Regions from separate parts of the Homo sapiens genome. Here all the other regions are linked to region 3. Evidence: promoter capture Hi-C in 16 types of primary human blood cells and fetal thymus (Javierre and others, 2016). All regions are on one chromosome and are shown on one strand. Each heading gives the region's core, a stretch centred on a gene start or on the middle of the fragment in contact. The rest is flanking DNA. Distances are from core to core; before and after follow the strand shown.

Region 1 (2,821 bases), core at 297-2,796, 200 kb before region 3:
CCTCAGTGCTACCCATCAATTTCTTAGTTTGTAGGAGGTTTAGCTCACCATCAGGAAATGTTCAAAATGAAAATCTCAATATTTCTCACCCTGATTGTCTGGTCATCAGAAGATGTCAAAAATGATGATCCATCAGGAGAAAACATCACACCATGAACCCAACTTAAATGTCCTCTGCAATCAGCCACCTTTGAACGTGAGTCTGTATTCCACAACTACAGAATAAACACAGCATATAGGAAATCACATACATAAGCATTTTGAAGAGAGCAAAAATATTGAAAATAGCAAGAATGAGCCAGCAATACCACTTCAATGAATATTGCTCAGAAACACACTATCAAAACTACAAAATGTCTTATGCAGAAGATTATTTAGTGCATCATTATTTTTTATAGCAAAATACTAGGAAACTAAATACTCATCAATAGGGAACCAACTGAATAAACTACATTAATCACATAATGGAATATCATGCAGCCATTAAAAACAATGAGAAAAACACCTTGATGACGACAAATCTCTAGGATATATTGTTAACAGAAAAAAAGCAAAGTGTAGAAGAGTCTATATACTATACACTACTATCTTTTATATGAGATGGAAAAATATGTACAAGAACATATAGAAGGATACAGGTATGGATATATATGCATATAGATATCTGCTTATATATGCAAGAAATATTGGACAGTTAAGCCAAAAACAGAAAATAGTTTACATATGCAGGGAAGGAGGGAGAGCGAGGCGAAGGGATAGGGATGAAAGCAAGACTTCTCTGAATATAACGCATTATAAAACTTTGACTTTGGAATCATGCAAATATTTTATCACTTTAAAAAAGTCAATCCAAAAAATAATAGGATGAACAAAAGCAGCTTCCATATTCAGATTATTTTCCACTAATACTGTCATCTAACCTTCATTTCAACTGACTGTAAAACCTACAATAAATTAACACAATAATTGTAACATGTACACATTTCTCTTGTTATTCATGCTTATTACCATGTCTACCAGCAGCCTGGTATTTTATCCTGGGTTCTGCTGTAAATTACTCTAATATATTCAAGTCTAATGAAGTACCATATGTGACTGAGTTCCTCTCATTACACTTTAAATTACAGAACTACTTTATCATTTCAGAACTAGCATGGACAAAACAAGTACCTCATCATAGGCCCAGTGACTGGTTTTCATTCAGTGAGTTCTGTGGTTATGAACTAATTATATGAAATTTTCTCCGCCTTATCTCTAAGAGTCCAAGCTGGGACATACAGAGCTAAGGGCCAAAAATGAAAGTGGTTCCACAACTGAAAATCTCTCCTAAGAAACTGAAAATCTCCCTTGAGAATCCTCCCCTCTCTTCCCACTTTCTTCTCCCCATCTCTCTCCCATCATTTCTTTGTCACTCAGAGCCTCCAGAGCTGAGTCCCTACATTTCAAGAAGGAAGATACTCTTTCATTGTTTCCTGGAGATTGCTAAGGATGGCAGAGGGTAAGGACTTTAGAAGTGACAAGAAAGGCTGAAAGAGGGGTTGCTACTTAGTACTGTTTCTAAAAATCCTAACAAACGCTCCACATTTACTTTGAGGATCTACACATAAGGTTCAAGATCTCCTAGGAGATCTAAAACCCAATAAACCCCAGCACTTTGGGAGGCTGAGGCAGGTGGATCACTTGAGGTCAGGAATTCGAGACCACCCTGGCCAACATGGTGAAACCCTATCTCCATGAAAAATACAAAAAAAAATTAGCCGGGCATGCTGGTGGGCACCTGTAATCCCAGCTACTCAGAAAGCTAAGGCAAGAGAATAGCTTGAACCCGGGAGGTGGAGGTTGCAGTGAGCTGAGATTACAACACTACACTGCAGCCTGGGTGACAGAGAGAGACTCTGTCTCAAAAACAAAGTAACACAAAACAAAACACTTCCAATTCAAAGTCTCTGCCCAACAAAACACTGCCCACAGCACCCTACTTCTTCCCGCTGTTTCATACAGGACTAGAGCTTTTTCACACTCCCTGCCTCTGTGTGCAATGGGAAGAGTCTCAGTAGGGAAGTTCTTCAGTGTCACATGCACTGCTGCACCTAGAATTAGGAGAAGCCTATGGATCTCATGCCCTCACTCTCACCTGTGCCTCTATGTTGAAGGGCTATAGCTTAGCAACTCTCCCCCAACACCTTCACAGTAATGGGCAAGGCTGGCAAACTCACTAAAATTTGCTAAATAAGCAGAGAACACTGAAGAAGTGCTTGCAGTAGTCATGGCTCCCTTGATGAGGAGCCTGTGAACCCAGTGAATTTCTCTATTTTCCAAAAGGCCCATACCCATCTTCTTGGAACTGTGATCTGAAGGGGTTTCAAACTACCTGGTGGTAAAACCAACCTAAGGAATGAAGACTAAGAAAGCCTGGAAAAACTAATCTATCTTTGGCCAGGCAAGGTGATACACCTGTAATCCCAGCATTTTGGGAGGCCAAGGCTGGGGGAGTATTGCTTGAGGCCAAGAGTTCAAGACCAGCCTGGGCAACACAGTGAGACCCCCATTTCTATTAAAAAACAAAAAAAAAAAGCACTAATCCATCTTTGAAGGAAAAAAATAATTCACTACTTTATGAAAAAACTAATATAGCACTTCACTGGGTGGAATTCTTCCAGGGCCAGCTAGGTATACATTCTGAACATAAAATTTAACAGGTAAGTACAAAATCATAAAAAAGTAATTTATATGAGTTATTTTATTCATTAGTGCCTGGCAATGAACATCCTATCTTATCCTACTCAATGATCTAAGAAATCTGAACTGGACTCATTTCTCA
Region 2 (2,700 bases), core at 66-2,565, 230 kb before region 3:
TTTCTCCCCTCATTCCCAGTCTTCTTTACCACTTGATGGGTGTATGCGTCGCCCAAAGAGAATCAAGTTCGGGATAGTTCAAAAGAAAGCAGGTGACAGCTTTCCTGCTAAGTAAGCAATGTCTGTCTCCTAAAAGCCAATGGCCATAAGGAGAAGGAGGTGGTAGAGGAGGGTGCCTGGAGCTAGGTGTCTGCCATGGAGCAGAAGCAGCAGGGTCGCAATTTGTGAATCATGGAGATTTGGGCAGTACAGGAATGGGGGTTTGTAACTGGGACGAAAGATAAGTATTATGCTGTTTATTGAGATCTATATCAGATTCTTGACATGTTTTTTCTAAGCCCCACAAAAGCCTTGTACATTAGGTTCCCTATTTGACAAATCAGGAAAGTGAGGCTCTGAGGGGCTGCATCTTTTTTCAAATGAAAGGAAAAGGAGAAGGGGGGAGATGCAATCAAGATGGCAGAAGACAGCACACAGATCCACTAACCAAGGCCTGCCACTAATTTGAAATGAATCCCTTAAGAGTTTCAAAGTAGAAACAGGCTTCCCCAAAGGGAAGGCAACAGTAGCTCTGCTACCTTCCTTGCTCAATACCTGAATCATCTGAGAATTGAGAGCAGGTTGGGCAGTGGCCAGGTGCTGGCAAATCCAACGCATTCCCCCCACCTGTCCCATCCATTGGCTTCTATCAGAATGTTCCTGCTGCTTTTTTCAAAGAGCAATCTCTACAGGCACAGATACAAGTTAAGCAGACTACCAAAAGTAGAAGCTCCTTGGGAGCAGACAGCATCTGATGCCTTCTCCGAGAGCTTAGTAGTGATGCATCTGTCCTGATGCAAGTGAGTAACGAATGAAATGCAGAACTGAAGTGATGCTCTTGGACCCTCTAGCCCAGGGGCTTCAATGAGAAGGTACAGGGAGTGTCACCCAGTGGAGACAGAAGGCCGTGGACCAGAAACCCAGCTCCACCACTTGGCTGTGGGGCCCTGGAAACCTAACCTCTCTGCATCTGTTTGCACACCTATGAAAGAGATAACACCTTGCAGCACTGTTATGATTCAGTTAAATAACGTATGGAAAATGCCCAGCCTGTGGGCTTGGCACATAAAAGGCCCTCAAAAAATAGTAGCTCCCTTCCTTCCTTCTAAAAGACTTGGTGTGTCTCCAGAGGTTAATTGACAGCAAGTAGGGCAATAAGCCCAAGATGAAGGGCTTAGTGAAGGGCTCACTGCTAATTGAAGGTGAATATAAGAACATCTCCAAAACCATCACGTAAGCTATTGGATGACTTTCCCCAGCTAGTGAAACCAAGCCTTATGACCCCTAGGCTGATGTCATCTGCCACTGAACCCAGGAGTATTCTACTTCCAGTTGTGACTGACAGGTGACTTACAAGCCTAAGAGTCTTGGCCTTTCTATCTATAAAGAATAGCAGATTTGGATTCTAGCCCTGGCTTTGTCACCGATTAGCTGCTGGGGTTTAGTTCTTCCTCTATCTAAAAACTGAAGCTGCAGTCTGCAGATCCACTCAACTTCTGTGAAGATAAATGAGAGTTGGGCAGTGCCTCGAGTGGAGCGGCGATAAACATTTGAATGAATGCGAACGTGTGCTCCTCAGAACAGCAGGAGTCTCCACTCACCTGCTCAGTTTTCCAGTTTGATCGGTTGCTCTGAACCCCCAGACCCAAACTCAGGCCTCGACCACCCTCTCTAGTTACATATTCTAGCCCTGGGTGATGGAAATTACAGAGGCAGATTTTTCTATTCATTTCTATGTGATAAGGAGCATTCCCAGTTCTGGGGGCCTGACCTCATAAATGAATTTACAAAGAACACCAGTGACTCATTTTCCTGAATCTTAATTGAAATGAAAATTTCCCAAATTCTGGTTTTCTCACATCATTTGACTCAGGAGCAAGTCATTGTTGATGCCAGAGGACTTCAAAGGCCTGGTCTCTGCTACGTCTCAAATGTGACCCCCTTCTTCTGCCCCTCTCGTGTGAGCATATACAGTAATTCTTCTATAGTTAAACTCATAGCCCAAGAGCAGCAGATTTTCTAATTCAGGCATTTTAATAACTGTATAGTATATCCACGGTCCCAAGGGGAGTGGTTATGAGCAAGGAATGTATTCCAGTGACAATCTTCAAAGACTAAGAATTATTAGAAAATCATTTTCTCCTTCGTTAAAGTTCAGTGAGTAAATTATAATATAAAATGTCTGTGGAATAATAGATGGCCATACTTGCTGACTTAAACACTCCAGGGATATGTTTATTCATTTTATATAATTTGGTAGCAAACCTCTTTTGTCCAAGTAAAGTTTTACTTTCCCCTAATGATGTTTCACAGAAAAAGGCCAAACTAAAACGGCAAGATAAAATGCTGGTGATATGCTACATCTTCATTTGACAGCCTCATGATATCCTTATGGAAAGGAAGAACATAGACTGTGTTATGAACACGTGGGCAAATTCATCCCATGGAACTCAGGAGATGAATTCCAGTCATCCAACAAGTGTTTACTGAGGCCCTCATTGCAATGCTAGGCTCATGTTAGACTCTATACAGTCCTGGCTTTCAAGGAGCTTACGATTTACTGGGGACCTCAATAAGCAAGCAATTCCAAAACAACAAAAGCCATGACAGAGAAAAGAGAATGCTAGGAGAGGGCAGGGCAGCCCTTCAGCTCTTGAGGGT
Region 3 (2,700 bases), core at 164-2,663:
TAATCGGTGAAAACATAAAAGGCGCCCAGTCCAACAGCTTTTCCCACATTCCTCCCCGCCACCCACCTCCAGAAGGAGTCTTGCTTGGTCACCCAGGCTCACTGCAACCTCCGCCTCCCGGGTTCAATCAATTCTTCTGCCTCAGCCTCCGGAGTAGCTGGGATTACAGGTGCACCCCACCATGCCCAGCTAATTTTTGTATTTTCAGTAGAAATGGGGTTTCACCATGTTGGTCAGGCTGGTCTTGAACTCCTGACCTCGTGATCCACCCACTTTGGCCTTCCAAAGTGCTAGGATTACAGGTGTAAGCCACTGAGCCTGGCAGTCACACATTCTTTCAACTGTTTGTTTCCACCTTTATTATAAAGTATTTATAAAGAGGGATCCAGAGTCCCTCACCTGGTTCAGAATCTTGGGTGACCCTTGGCAGGTCACTAACCCTGTGAGCCACAGCCACATTTGTAAAAGTGGGATAATAGTCACACATTGTGAGGTTGTTCACAGTGTTGGCACATGGTAAGGGCTAAGACACTTGATTAGCATAATATTCAAAATTAGAAATTGTACACTATTGTACTCTCTTTCAAAAGGCAAACAGCCTAAAACTGTTTGGAAAAAACAGCTTGTACAGTATATTGTACACTTCCTGTGATAGACTAGTGGACTGATACACCCACTAATGCACAGCAGTAATAGTCCACCTCTTTACACATTATGCATGTTAAGTGACAAAAAAACTCACTTTAAAAGGCCAAATGATAAAAACATCAGCCTTGAGGCTCTTCGATATAGAGTAAATCATATCTTCCTGCAAACCAAGGATTAGTATCATAATACCTGAAAGAGGAAAACTTAATTCTAACATTCAAGAAAATTGGCGGCAGGAATACACCTCGGCTTCTAGTAGTCGGTAGTTTAAAATACAGGAGGAAAAAAAAAAAGTTTGACCCCGACGTGATTCGAACACGCAGCCTTCTGATCTGGAGTCAGACGCGCTACCGTTGCGCCACGAGGTCCTGCTGGGCTGTGGCTCGCGCAGTTTCTTAGGACACCAGTAAATGGCGTTTCTTCCAGGGGTACCAGTCTTTCTCTTCCATTTACTCTCTGCCCCTCCACCCAGTATCTGTCGGACCAGGAGACCGATTCCTTCAGCGTCCAAACTTTCCTGACTGCTAGTCCTCTAACCAAGGCTGGGACGTAACCAGCGGAAGCGGGAGAACGGGGCTTCCCGTTTAGTCGGGTCTCCAGGATCAAAGGAAATTGGCCCTTCCTTTTCTTTACCAAATGATTTCCGTTCTTACCCGCCCTGCCCCCGCCCCGTTAGTCGCGAGACTCCGCCCTCTCTCCCCTCCCCCAACAGGTTCCGCGCGCTGAGTTCGCGACCTCGAGTTGTAATCTGGCGGGGCGCCACTAAGCCGGCGCAGGCCTTCGCAAGATGGCGGCTGGAGGCAAGGGCAGAGGCCTTCAGAGCGTTTTCTTTTTCCCTTTCCTCCCTTCCTGCAAACAATGTAAGGCATTTTCTCTCAGGGGAGGCTTTCACTTCATGGTGGGCATTAAGGTTAAAAGTCACCATTTTGAAGACAGGGTTGTGCACTTAAGGGAGCTGGTTTAGCATATTATGTTTAACAGCAGTGTCCTGTCATTGAATGATACAGAAAATAATAACTGTCGCCAAAAAAGTGCAGCTACACACCTCCCCGTCGGGGAATTGAACCCCGGTCTCCCGCGTGACAGGCGGGGATACTAACCACTATACTAACGAGGAGTCGTTAGGCTGTGTATTTTCTCAGACAGCCCTTCAAGGAGCAGTAAGATCCTTCCAGCGCTCCGTAACCTTCCGCCTGCCCCCGGGAAGTACGAAAGTCCGGTCTCTTGGAGCCGCTGCTTAGGCTTATTGTCCTCTCTGGGCGCTTTGTATTCTTGATGTTGGTGGGAAGAATAAAAGGTGTGGAATATGTGAAGGAAACGCGCTTCCCATGTTAGTGCTAGAGAAGTGTGTGAAAATAGTTTTTCCGAGGCTCTTGACGCGTTCTAAATGATTTAGGTTGCCGTCCTGAGTTTTTTTTTTTTAACTGACCACTGGTATGTGACTTGCGGCTGAGCCTTCCCCTTACAAATTTATACTTTCACTCTGAAGTTCAAGTTCAAGGATAGCATATGGCTGCCAGATGTCGGGGACAGTTAGGGTTGCCACGGTCTCGTGCCTCTTCAAACAATTCATAAGTCTTTTTTTTTTGAGAGGAAGTCTCGCTCTGTCCCCTAGGCTGGAGTGCAGTGTTGCGATCTGGGCTCACTACAACCTCCACCTCCAAGGCTCAAGTGATTCTCCCGCCTCAGCCTCTCGAGTGGCTGGGATTACAGGCGCGCACCACCATGCCTGGCTAATTTTTGTATTTTACTAGAGACGCGGGGTGTGTGTGTGTGTGTGGGGGGGGGGAGGGTTCACCATGTTGGCCAGACTGGTCTCGAACTCGTGACCTTTAGTGATCCACCTGCCTCGGCCTCCCAAAGTGCTGGGATTTACAGGCGTGAGCCACCGCGCCCGGCCAATTCACACACTTTTGTAACACAAAAGCGCCCAATGAAATGACCAGCTGCGGGCAAATGAAATTTTATCAAAATTTTATCAGCCGACTTCTGTTTCGCTCTCTGTAGGTGGCTACAGTTTAACTGGAAGTGACAAACGTAAGTATGTGAATG

What was found. Contacts are between HindIII fragments. The CHiCAGO score rates a contact against its expected background, and 5 or more counts as called.
Region 1: a fragment that was not itself captured here is called in contact with the fragment with the promoter of LINC02453 in region 3 in 5 of 17 cell types (neutrophils, naive CD8 T cells, total B cells and 2 more); the score reaches 8.7 in neutrophils.
Region 2: a contact is called between a fragment that was not itself captured here and the fragment with the promoter of LINC02453 in region 3, in 1 of 17 cell types (neutrophils). The highest score is 10.5, in neutrophils.

The regions. Positions count from the first base shown.
Region 1 is chr12:98,703,879-98,706,699 of GRCh38, reverse strand. It overlaps APAF1 (apoptotic peptidase activating factor 1), which reads right to left. Exons shown (of 27, transcript NM_181861.2): 19 at 90-215. Among named protein-coding and RNA genes, the nearest start is that of APAF1, 60 kb to the right of the region's middle. The HindIII fragment of the contact is 4,085 bases long and covers 1-2,821 here.
Region 2 is chr12:98,737,388-98,740,087 of GRCh38, reverse strand. It overlaps a transcript of ANKS1B not described here. Among named protein-coding and RNA genes, the nearest start is that of APAF1, 93 kb to the right of the region's middle. The HindIII fragment of the contact is 5,081 bases long and covers 1-2,700 here.
Region 3 is chr12:98,502,568-98,505,267 of GRCh38, reverse strand. It overlaps LINC02453 (long intergenic non-protein coding RNA 2453), which reads left to right and starts at 1,413. Exons shown (of 4, transcript NR_038383.1): 1 at 1,413-1,508; 2 at 2,656-2,685. It overlaps TRD-GTC1-1 (tRNA-Asp (anticodon GTC) 1-1), which reads right to left and starts at 1,765; the gene lies at 1,694-1,765. It overlaps TRW-CCA4-1 (tRNA-Trp (anticodon CCA) 4-1), which reads right to left and starts at 1,016; the gene lies at 945-1,016. RefSeq lists enhancers at 1,056-1,355, 1,366-1,675. The HindIII fragment of the contact is 12,452 bases long and covers 1-2,700 here.